Regions from separate parts of the Homo sapiens genome. Here all the other regions are linked to region 2. Evidence: promoter capture Hi-C in human tissues and cell types (Jung and others, 2019). All regions are on one chromosome and are shown on one strand. The core of a region is centred on a gene start or on the middle of the fragment in contact, and the rest is flanking DNA. Distances in the headings are between cores, read along the strand shown.

Region 1 (3,569 bases), core at 1-2,500, 550 kb before region 2:
GAAGCAGGGTCAAAGCAAGCCCTGACAAGGGGAAGGCTGTCCCCCTTAGCCTTTGGGGCAGGGGTGGCAGCAGCAACACATTCCTCGTGACTCAGCAGCCCGGTGGCACTAAGGGGAAAGATGGACTTCTCCCAACCCAGGGGAGGCTGAGACCCTCCGAGCTGGGGTTCCAGGGACACGCGTCACCTCTTCCCAGAGACCCCTCAGGAGGGAAATAAAGAGGTTTCTCTCCGTCCTCCACCAATTTATTTGCCCATCCGCAGGAGGTGACAGCTCCTGTGGTGTCTGACCACCCCCAACTCCGAAGTCCAGACAAGCTGTCCGCCCAGAATATGAGGCTGACTTGGGCACACTAGGGGAATACCCCAAAGGCCTGAAGGAGGTGCCACTGGGCTGCCAGCACTTCAGGAAGGCACAGGGCCCCACACCCCCGAGATCCAAGCTGCACTGGCTGGCAGGGGGCAGGGCGGGGGGTGGCGAGGACACAGTCCCGTGTGTCCCAGCACCGGTGCCACCCTCCTAAGCCCCGGGCAGGCAGTACGTACATGCGGACCCCGCCTCTCAAAGCACGTTTATGGAAATGAACAGGGTGGGGTGGCCCGCGCTCGCCGGTCACATGTTGGCTCGTTCCCGCTGCAGCCGCGAGTTGTAGGCGCGAGACACGGTGTTCCAGGCGTCCATGTAGCGGTCCATGCACATGGCGATGCACTTCTGCGGGAGCGGAGGGGCGCACGGCTCAGCTCGGGACTTCGCGGCCCCGGGGACCGCCCTGACCCCGGCTCCAGGACGCCCGGGCTGCAGACTACGCACGTGCAGTGACCACTCCGTCGCACCTCCCCGTTAGTCTGCGCACGCGCAGACACCTCCCCCCTCGAATCTAGGCCCTCGCGACCCTTGCCCCGAACCTCCGCGGGTCTCACCTGCTCGGAGTTGTCCAGGGAGCCCCCAGGTTTCCCTATACACTTCCGGAAACACTTGTCCGTCATCCTCTGTGGAGACACGCGAGGCTTTAGCCGCGACGTCGGCCCCCAGGGGTGGCCCTGTCGCCCCCAGCGCCCGTCCCCGGCCAGCCCCGCACCTGCAGCAGCTCCTGCGCGTTGGCCACGGCGATCTGCACTTTCACCTGCTCCATTATGAGCCCTGGGTCCAGCTTCCCGCTGCCGGAGCCCCCGAAATCGGAGCCGAAGCCGCCCTCCATGGCTCCGCAAAGTCAACCGGACCGAGGCCGCGTGCGCCGACTCGTAACTAACTGCGCCGGAAGCGGGCCGCCCGGGGCACCACGGGAAACGGAGTCCGCGCGGACGGGGACGGAGGACTACAACTCCCACACGACCGCGCGCGCCCGGGCCATTCAAGGTCGCGCGGGGGGCCCTCCGCTCATGCGGAGGCCTGGACCTGCCGTTACCTACACGAGCTACCCGTGGTTGCGACTCCGCGGGAAGAGGGAGGCCCTGACTTGGCCGGGGAGTAGGGGGGCTACTACGTGCGGCCGAGGCCGATCACTTTGTACTCACGCTCTGCCTCCAGCTCGTCCCGAAGGGCCTGCCGCGCATGCGCACGAGGCACCCGGCGCGTCTATACAGCGTGTTGCCGCCGGGGCGGAGCCCGGTCGCATCACGTGACGAAGAGTCAGCTTGTGCAACAGCGTCGGAGGCTCACTAGAAAAAAAAGGGCAGGGTCCCATGCATCGCCTGGGTCCTGTTTACACTAGCTACACTAGCCAGTGACCTTTTTCCTTGGGGGTGGAGGGATCTTTCTTAGACATCCGCTTCATTAGGGCAGAGGCCCCGGCTCGAGCTTCCCCTCAGGAATAAACTCAGAGGCAGAACCTAAAATCAAAATGTTTATTGGAGTGTTGTACAAAAAAGTTTCCAGTCATAAAATGTATATTACAAATCATTGGAAAAAAAAAAGAACACATTAGGCATGCATCTTCTTAAAAACCGAATCTCTGAAATGAAAGTCCATGCCAGCCCCAGCTGCAGCCCAGCTCCGTTTTTGCAGGTTGTGCTGTGACGCTCGCTGGACGCAGGGCTTGGAAGAGGCTGCAGGCGGCGACGCCCCAGGACTGAGGAGTCCCTCAGATCTTTAACAAAGAACTGCCGCGTGCAGGCTTCAGACCAACCCCAGCCAAAGCCGCTGGCATGAGGACAGGTGCATGATCGGATTCTGGGTCAGCCCGCAGGCCTCCCGGCTCCTGGGCTCAGCGGGGCAGGCTTCAGCGTTAACCTGGCGCTGTGCACCCCAGAACCCGCGTTGGTCCAGCAGGCGTGGGCCTCCCCCCAGGGCTGGGTGGCGTCTGATGCTTCGCAGGGAGGGCGCTAGGCTTCGAGTCACACGGCACGGGCTTACACAGAGGGATGGTTTCGCATCGTTCTAAGCGGCACACAGCTAAGCGTATTTGGGGACAAATGCAAATTGTTTCCCAGGCCATAAATAACTTTTAAAAATTTGATTTTCTTAGTGTTTCCAAAGACTCAATTCTCAATGAACCTCCAATTACCCACAGGCTGCCCAGTCCACGCTTCTCCCCACCCCCTTCAGCTAAGGGCACCCGCAGTCCTAGGACCACCCCCAGCTCCACCCAAGGCAAATGTAGGGTGGGGGGTTCTGTGGGCCTGGGGCGTGCTGTTTTCAGGACAGGACTGGGCAGCGTCTGGACATGAGGACCTGCGGGTTTTGGGGGGGACTTTGTCCCTGAGCCCAGCCTGCAAGGCTGTCGGCAAATCACAGACCAACTCCAGGATACAGCTTTGCTCCTCCAGAGCCAAAATACATAGGATGTGGCTGAGACCACTGCAGACTCCCCATAGGACAAGATCACCAAGACCCACCCCCAGAACCCTCGCTAGCACGAAGCCCAGCCAGTCGGGTCCGGGTGATTCCTGCTATGAAGGTGGGAAAGAGGACACAGTCTGTCGCCAGCATTCCCACTTCCAGCGGCTGGCAGAGGGTATCCCCGGGGCAGGCAAAGCTCCCTACCAGCCGCCTGACTGGGAGCACAGCGGCGTAGCCTCCAGGAGGAAATGCTTTGGTAAGATGCGCCCCCCTCTATCTACATGGGACCGGGACTTCTGAGAGCAAGGACAGCGAGCAGGGGCTACGTGGAGCAGCGGGTGTTTCTGCTTTGTCGGCCGCTGGCTCCTTCCCGGCCTGGGGCTGGGGCCCCCCATTCCTTCCTGCCACAGGCAGGTCCCCAGGGAGGCGGGATGCAGTCACAGGGGAGCGGTGCCGCCCCCGCCCTGCAGTGAACGCCATGGCCCGGAGACGGCGCGTGCCCATGGCTCAGTTTTGGTGTCTTTAAGACTTGAGCTGCACTTTCTGAAGGAGGCTCTGCCGTCGGAGGGTGCCCCAGCCCCACGCCACCCCGGGGAGGAGGGTCAGCCTGTCCTCAAGGCCCTGGCGTGAGCTCCTGACCTGTGTACTGACCAATGTAAAAAAATAAATATCCATTAAAAAAATAACTTCTGTGTATCTATGAGGGAGGGTGTAAACGGTGAGCTATTGCCGAAGGGGGGTGCCAGGCATTGGGAAGCTGGACTGAGGGGCTTGGGTGCGTCGTGATAGGA
Region 2 (3,733 bases), core at 451-2,950:
GTCTCGATCTCCTGACCTCGTGATCCACCCGCCTCGGCCTCCCAAAGTTCTGGGATTACAGGTGTGACCCGGCCAAGCTGGGGTTTCACCATGTTGGCCAGGCTGGTCTCGAACCCCTGACCTCAGATGATCCACCCACCTCTGCCTCCCAAAGTGCTGGGATTACAGGCGTGCACCACAGCACCTGGCCCAACGTGGTGATTTCTAAGTAGGGAGCTGAGGGAGTAAGGAGCCAGCCGGTGGCTGTCTGAGAGAGACTGTCCCTGGCAGAGTGAACTGCTAATGCCAGTACCAGGTCCTGGGCCAAACAGAAAGAAACGGGCTCTCACTCCAGAACTGCAGCTTGACCACTATATATATAATATATATACTTTATATATATTATAGCTATATATTTTTTTGAGATGGAGTCTTGCTCTGTTGCTCAGACTGGAGTGCAGTGGCACGATCATAGCTCACTCCAGACTCAACCTCCTGGGCTTACGCCATCCTCCTGCCTCAGCCTCCCCAGTAGCTGAGACTACAGGTGCATGACCACCACACTTGGCTAATTTTTAAATTTTTTGTAGAGACGCGGTGTCACTGTGTTGCCCAGGCTGGTCTCCAACTCCTGGCCTCAAGCAATCCTCCCACCTCAGCCTTCCAAAATGCTGGGATCACAGGTGTGAGCCATGGTGACTTGGCTTCATATTTTGAATAGGCCAAAACAAAACTCCGAAATCCCCTTACTCCTATCCCCACGACCCCACACAGCAGGTTTCTCTCGCTCTGCAGCAACCCACTTACCTCTCGGAAATCATCCCAGGCCTGTTCGGAGTGCACGCAGCCCCGTTAGCCTCCCTGGCTGCTCCTGTAACCAGCCCAGCTCTGCCTGAGAGGTTCCGCTATTCCCTCCGTCTGGAATACCCACCACTCTCTCCCACCCCGCGCTTGCATCCGGCAATACTGTATCAGCCTCAGGGCCTCTGCTGTCCCGCTTTCTGCTCTCAGAGCCTTTGTCACTGGGCTGGAAGAGCAGTTGGGAAAATTCGGTGATAAATGCATAGCCCGGGGCTGGGACCATCAAGGGGACCCAGTAAGTTGGCTCCAGAAAGAGGACTTGAAGCTTCGTTTGCATTGCACGTTATTTAATATTGAGGAAAATGTAATTAGCCCGTATCTAAGAATTGGGGTGACAGCGCTAAAGATTGAACCCACCCACCTCCCACTCCTCACCTCCAGCCATAAGCCACTTCCGGACAAGGCTAAAAATGCGTAAAACAATGCAACTACTCGCCACCTATCCCTGCCCAAGTTCCAGCCTCTGAGCCTCAAGCCCCACGCCCTCCTAAATATCCCCGCCCCCGCTGGGACCCCAAATTGCCTATAGCTCTGCAAGTCCGCCCTTCCCGGCAGCGGGACCGAAAGGGTAAAGCAGAGGCTCCCGGCTCGCTGAGTGACAGCATGGCCGGCGGCCGGGGAGAGCCGACCAATCAGGGAGGGCGTACGCGACCCACGTGCGTAAACGGCCTCGCTATTGGCCGGCGCCGCCAGAGGCCTGCCCCCCCCGGAGCCCGAACCCACGTGCAGCTACTGCGCCTTCATTGATCTGCTTCGCGGTCCAGGTGGCGGCTGGGTGGGGCCTGGGCGGGACGGGGCGGGGACAAGGCGGGACGAGGCGGGGCCCGATGGGTCAAATGGCCCCCGGTGGGGGAAGGAGGAGTTTCCTCTTGGCCTGAACTTGGCTGACCTCCGCAGCTTCCGCCCGGTGAGGGACGTGAGTTGCCAGGCGTGTTCTAGGGGGCTGGGGGGACTCCAGGATTCCCGGCCGGGGAAGGGGCTGCAGGGGCGTGGAGGGGCAGGACTGAGGCAAGGAAGAAGCTGGGTGCTGCAGCAGGGATGGAGGTGGAGAGAGGTCGTTTCTTCTGTCTGATGAATTCCGCCTAATGCACCTGGCTAACTCCTAGTCATCCTTCAAAACCCCTTTCTAGTGATCTCCCTGCGCTTTAGGAAATTGTCTCAAAACTAAGGTTGAGCTTTGGCGACCTTCCCTGGGCTCCCCCGTCCCTGACTGCCCCCAGCAGGGAGTGTATGTGCACTATCCACCCCAGCCTCCTAGGGTGAGGCCTGGGAGGCAAGGCTCAGTTCTTTCTGGGTCCCCGCCCCCATGAATCTGGGCAGCTGGAGGCATTGATAAGTGAGGACAGGACCTAGGGAACGCATGGGAGAACCGCAGGATTGGGTCCCTGGAGACTTACCAAACTGGGAGGTGCGGGTGGGGTAACGGGTGCCTTGCTTCCCTGGCACTGCCTTATTTTCTGTCCCTCAAGACCTGCCGTCTCCTTGTTGTTTTAGACTCTGGCTAAAGTCTTGGAGGCTACTGCCTTGAAGATGACCTCTAGGGACCAGCCCAGACCCAAGGGCCCCCCGAAAAGCACTTCGGTGAGGAGGGCATGTGGTGGGATCAGCCCTCAAGGGAAACCCGGGCCCAATGTGGTTCTGCCCCTTTTCCACCTGTGACCTGGGCTGGCCCCGCCCAGGCCTCGCAGCTGAAGACAATACTGGTCGCTGCTACACTCAAGACAGGTGCCAAGGAGCCGTGTTTTTTAAAAAAAATTAAGTGTAGGCTGGACACTGTGGCTCACAACTGTAATCTCAACATTTTTGGAGGCCGAGGCAGGAGGACCACTTGAGCCCAGGAGTTTGAAACCAGCCTGGACAACGTAGTGAGACCCTGTCTCTGTAAAAAATAAAACTAGAAGAATCAGCTGGGCCTAGTGACGTGGGCCTGTAGTTGCAGCTACTTGGGAGGCTGAGGCAGAGGGTTGGCTTGAGCCCAAGGAGTTTGAGGCTGCAGTGAACTATGATGGTGCCACTGCACTCCATCCTTGGTGACAGTGAGATCCCATCTAAAAAAAAATGTAGCATCTAATCACATATGTGATAAAAACACAGGAACACATCATGTATTTGGTTGATGTTTTACAAGCAATCCCCGCTCCCTGCACTTTGCGTCCCAGAGATGACCATTTGTAAATTTAGGCTCTCAGGGCTGAGCAGACGTTTTTTTTTGTAAAGGAGTCAGATGAGGGATATTTTGTTTTGAGACTTTATGATTTTATTATGTTTGAGACGGAGTCTCACACTCACCTCGGCTGGAATGCAATGGCGCAATCTCAGCTCACTGCAACCTCTGCCTCCCGGGTTCAAGTGATTCTCCTGCCTCGCCTCCCGAGTAGCTGGGACTACAAGCACCTGCCACCATGACCACCAAATTTTTCTTGTATTTTTAGTAGAGACTGGGTTTCACCATGTTGGCCAGGCTGGTCTCGAGCTCCTGACCTCGTGATCTGCCTGCCTCAGCCTCCCAAAGTGCTGGGGTTATAGGTGTGAGCCACCACACTTGGCCAAGAGACTTTATTTTATTGAGTCTTGCTCTTGTTGCCCAGGCTGGAGTGCAGTGGCGCGATCTCGGCTCACTGCAACCTCCACCTCCCAGGTTCAAGTGATTCTCCTGCCTCAGCCTCCCGAGTAGCTGGGATTACAGGTGCGCGCCACCACGCCCGGCTAATTTTTGTATTTTCAGTAGAGACGGGGTTTTGCTGAGTTGCCCAGGGTTGTCTCAAACTCCTGACCTCAGGTGTTCTGCTCACCTCGGCCTCCCAAAGTGCTGGGATTACAGGCATGAGCCACCTTGCCCGGACTTTTATTTTTAAAAATATTTTGTGCTTCTATTTTCATCACAAGAATGTGG
Region 3 (3,535 bases), core at 223-2,722, 610 kb after region 2:
ACCCGGGAGGCAGAGGTTGCAGTGAGCCGAGATCGTGCCACTGCACTCCAGCCTTGGCAAGAGAGAGAGACTCCGTCTCAAAAAATAAAATAAAATAAAATATCTGATATGTCAGATGGTAGCTTTAAATGCTGAAGAGAAGCTGGGCACAGTGGCTCACATCTGTAATCCTAGCACTTTGGGAGGCCAAGGCTGAAGGATGGCCTGAACCTCCTGGTCTTGAGTTTGAGACCAGCCTGGGCAACACAGTGAGATCCCAACTGTACAAAAAATTAATCATGTTTCTAAATTAAATTTTAAAAAACTGAATGCGGCCGGGTGCGGTGGTTCACGCCTGTAATCCCAGCACTTTGGGAGGCCAAGGCAGGTGGATCACCTGAGGTCAGGGGTTCGAGACAAGCCTGACCAACATGGTGAAACCCTGTCTCTACTAAAAAATACAAAAATTAGCCAGGCATGGTGGTGTGCGCCTATAATCCCAGCTACTAGGGGGGCTGAGGCAGGAGAATCGCTTGAACCCAGGAGGTGGAGGTTGCAGTGAGCCGAGATCACGCCATTGCACTCCAGCCTGGGCGACAGAGCTAGACTCCGTCTCCAAAATCAAACAAACAAACCAAAGGCTGGGCGTGGTGGCTCATGCCTGTAATCCCAGCTTTTTTGGAGGCTAAGGTGGGTGGATTCCTGAGGTCAGGAGTTCAAGACCATCCTGGCCAACATGGTGAAACCTCATCTCTATTAAAAATACAAAAAAATTAGCCGGGCATGGTGGTATATGCCTGTAATCCCAGCTACTGGGGAGGCCGAGGCATGAGAATTGCTTGAACCTGGTGGGCAGAGGTTGCAGTGAGCTGAGATCGTGCCACTGAACTCCAAACTGGGTGACAGAGCGAGACTCCAGCTCAAAATAAATAAATAAATAAAAATAATAAAATAAAATAAAACAATGACCTCGCCTAGCAGAGGGTGAGTGCTCCAGCACCCTCAGCTGTCCCTGTCCTTTTTTTTTTTTTTTTTTTTTTTTTTGCGACGGAGTCTCGCTTTGTTGCCCAGGCTGGAGTGTAATGGCGCCATCTCAGCTCACTGCCACCTCCGCCTCCCGGGTTCAAGAGATCTCAGCCTCCCGAGTAGCTGGGATTACAGGCGCCCGCCACCACGTCCGGCTGATTTTTGTATTTTTGGTAGAGACGGGGTTTCACCATGTTGGCCAGGCTAGTCTTGAACTCCTGACCTCAGGTCATCTGCCCGCTTCGGCCTCCCAAAGTGCTGGAATTACAGACGTGAGCCACCGCTCCAGGCCTGTCCCTGTCCTTATTTGTGGTCCCTGTTCTTCCAGGGTCCTGAGCTCAGGCCCCCCCGGACTGCGGGTATCCCCGGGGAGGGCACAGCTGGCCCTGGCAGGGCCCGGACACCTGGGGCCCGACCCACCCCTGCGCACCCCGCGGTGTCGCCTTCCCGGGAGGCTCGGGTTCCCAGATCCCCTTACCCGGGCGTCTCGGCTGTCGCGCCCTGGGCCGGGGGAGGGGAGGCTGCAGGAAGCGGCGGATCCGGCGGCGGCGGCGAGGGCCCGGGTGGGTGGCCGAACTTCTCCCGCCATGGAGGGAGCAGCGGCCCGGGAGGCCCGGGGGACCGAGACCCCGCGCGCGTCTGCGCCCCCGCCCGCGCCCTCGGAGCCCCCGGCCGCGCCCCGCGCCCGCCCGCGCCTCGTCTTCCGCACGCAGCTGGCGCACGGGAGCCCCACGGGCAAGATCGAGGGCTTCACCAACGTCCGCGAGCTGTACGCCAAGATCGCCGAAGCCTTCGGGATCGCGCCCACCGAGGTAAGGAGCCCGGACACCGGCGCCCAAGACCACCCGCCTGATGGGGTGAGGGGTAGGGAGCTTGGACCCTGGACGGGAGACCCCAGATCCCCGGATCCCAGACGTCGGGGTGGCCGCCTAATCGCCGGATCTCAGAGACCCAGCCCTCAGATCCCGGGGTGCCACACTCCCAGGGGCCCCCTTTGCACGCTCTGCGCAAAAGATGGGCAGGTCTTAGGACTAGCGGACCCCTAGATATTCCAGAAAATCCTCTGCGCAGACCTAGCTTGGAGCGGACCCCAGCCCTCGGGGAAGCGCCTCTGTGCTTCCTGGGCGTAGCTGGGGTCTGGGGTTCCAGATGGCCCCCTTAGGGATGGGAAGTTTGAGGCCGCCGTGGGGTTGGGGGGTTCCTGGGCGTTTTTCCAATCCGGGTTCGTTTGGTTTGCAGCCCCCAGGGGGCGCCAGCAGATTAAACCTGGAGGTCTGGGGGCTGGAGGTCCCGGGGTATGGAGAGGGGTCTCCACCTGCTGGAAGTCTCCTTCTCCCTCCTCTCTCTGTTCTGGGGGTCCCACGCCCTGCCCTTTCCCATGGGCTGGGATCCTGGTCGCTGGGGGCAGGGGCCTGCGCAGACAGGGTGGCTGCGTGGGGGGATGCATGCCCTGGCTAACTCTAGGCTCCTTCTCCCCCGGGAAGATTTTATTCTGCACCCTCAACAGCCACAAAGTGGACATGCAGAAGCTCCTGGGGGGTCAGATAGGCCTGGAGGACTTCATCTTTGCCCACGTGCGAGGCGAGACCAAGGAGGTGGAGGTCACTAAGACAGAGGATGCTCTGGGGCTGACCATCACGGACAACGGGGCTGGCTACGCCTTCATCAAGGTGCCCGGGAGGGGGTGGGCGGGTGGCTTCCTGGGGTCCAGCAACTGCCCCCCCCACTCTGGGTCGACGTGGGTTCTGCGGATTGGAGGCGGGTGGCTGGGGTTGCCCTGCCAGCGACGCTGGATCCCTGCAGAGAATCAAGGAAGGCAGTATCATCAACCGGATCGAGGCAGTGTGCGTGGGTGACAGCATCGAAGCCATCAACGACCACTCCATTGTGGGCTGCCGCCACTACGAGGTGGCCAAGATGCTCCGGGAGCTGCCCAAGTCCCAGCCCTTCACCCTGCGCCTGGTGCAGCCCAAGAGGGCCTTCGGTGAGGCGGGTGGGCTGGCGGGAGCTCTTCCCGAAGTGCGTTCTACGGATGCCTGGGGTGGAGGAGGGTCGGGGATGGGACGGGCTGGAAGGTTCTAGGTGCACCCGCTGCGTGCCAAGGAGCTCCTGGCAGGGTATCAGAAACTCGTAGGTAGTTTCTATTAATAGATTGTTATGGAGTCAGCCTGTGGGGGAGGGGTGGGGGAGAGACTGGGTAAAGTGGAGTTGGAGGAGGACGCGTCCAGAACCACTTTGGAGCCAGGCTGGGAGACTTGTTTTTGTTTGTTTGTTTGTTTGTTTGTTTTTGAGACGGAGTCTCACTCTGTTGCCTGGGCTGGAGTGCAATGGCGCGATCTCAGCTCACTGCAATCTCCACCTCCCGGGTTCAAGCGATTCTCCTGCCTCAGCCTCCCGAGTAGCTGGGACTACAGGCACCCACCATTGCGCCTGGCTAATTTTTGTATTTTTAGTAGAGACGGGGTTTCACCATCTTGACCAGTCTGGTCTCGAACTTCTGACCTCAAGTGCTCCACCCGCCTCAGTCTCC

What was found. Contacts are between HindIII fragments. The study calls those that stand out against the background at their distance.
Region 1: the fragment with the promoter of TIMM13 here is called in contact with the fragment with the promoter of TLE6 in region 2 in 1 of the 25 tissues and cell types used here (aorta).
Region 3: the fragment with the promoter of GIPC3 here is called in contact with the fragment with the promoter of TLE6 in region 2 in 3 of the 25 tissues and cell types used here (bladder, dorsolateral prefrontal cortex and pancreas).

The regions. Positions count from the first base shown.
Region 1 is chr19:2,426,336-2,429,904 of GRCh38, forward strand. TIMM13 (translocase of inner mitochondrial membrane 13) reads right to left here and starts at 1,251. Exons shown (of 3, transcript NM_012458.4): 1 at 1,079-1,251; 2 at 921-989; 3 at 1-711. The coding sequence starts at 1,198. The coding sequence ends at 613. It overlaps LMNB2 (lamin B2), which reads right to left. Exons shown (of 12, transcript NM_032737.4): 12 at 1,831-3,569. RefSeq lists enhancers at 1-741, 742-1,487, 1,572-1,721 and a silencer at 932-1,021. The HindIII fragment of the contact is 21,330 bases long and covers 1-3,569 here.
Region 2 is chr19:2,975,864-2,979,596 of GRCh38, forward strand. It overlaps TLE6 (TLE family member 6, subcortical maternal complex member), which reads left to right and starts at 1,701. Exons shown (of 17, transcript NM_001143986.2): 1 at 1,701-1,747; 2 at 2,335-2,421. The coding sequence starts at 2,371. RefSeq lists a silencer at 1,423-1,732. The HindIII fragment of the contact is 31,192 bases long and covers 1-3,733 here.
Region 3 is chr19:3,584,006-3,587,540 of GRCh38, forward strand. It overlaps GIPC3 (GIPC PDZ domain containing family member 3), which reads left to right and starts at 1,473. Exons shown (of 6, transcript NM_133261.3): 1 at 1,473-1,817; 2 at 2,490-2,675; 3 at 2,809-2,989. The coding sequence starts at 1,593. The HindIII fragment of the contact is 10,668 bases long and covers 1-3,535 here.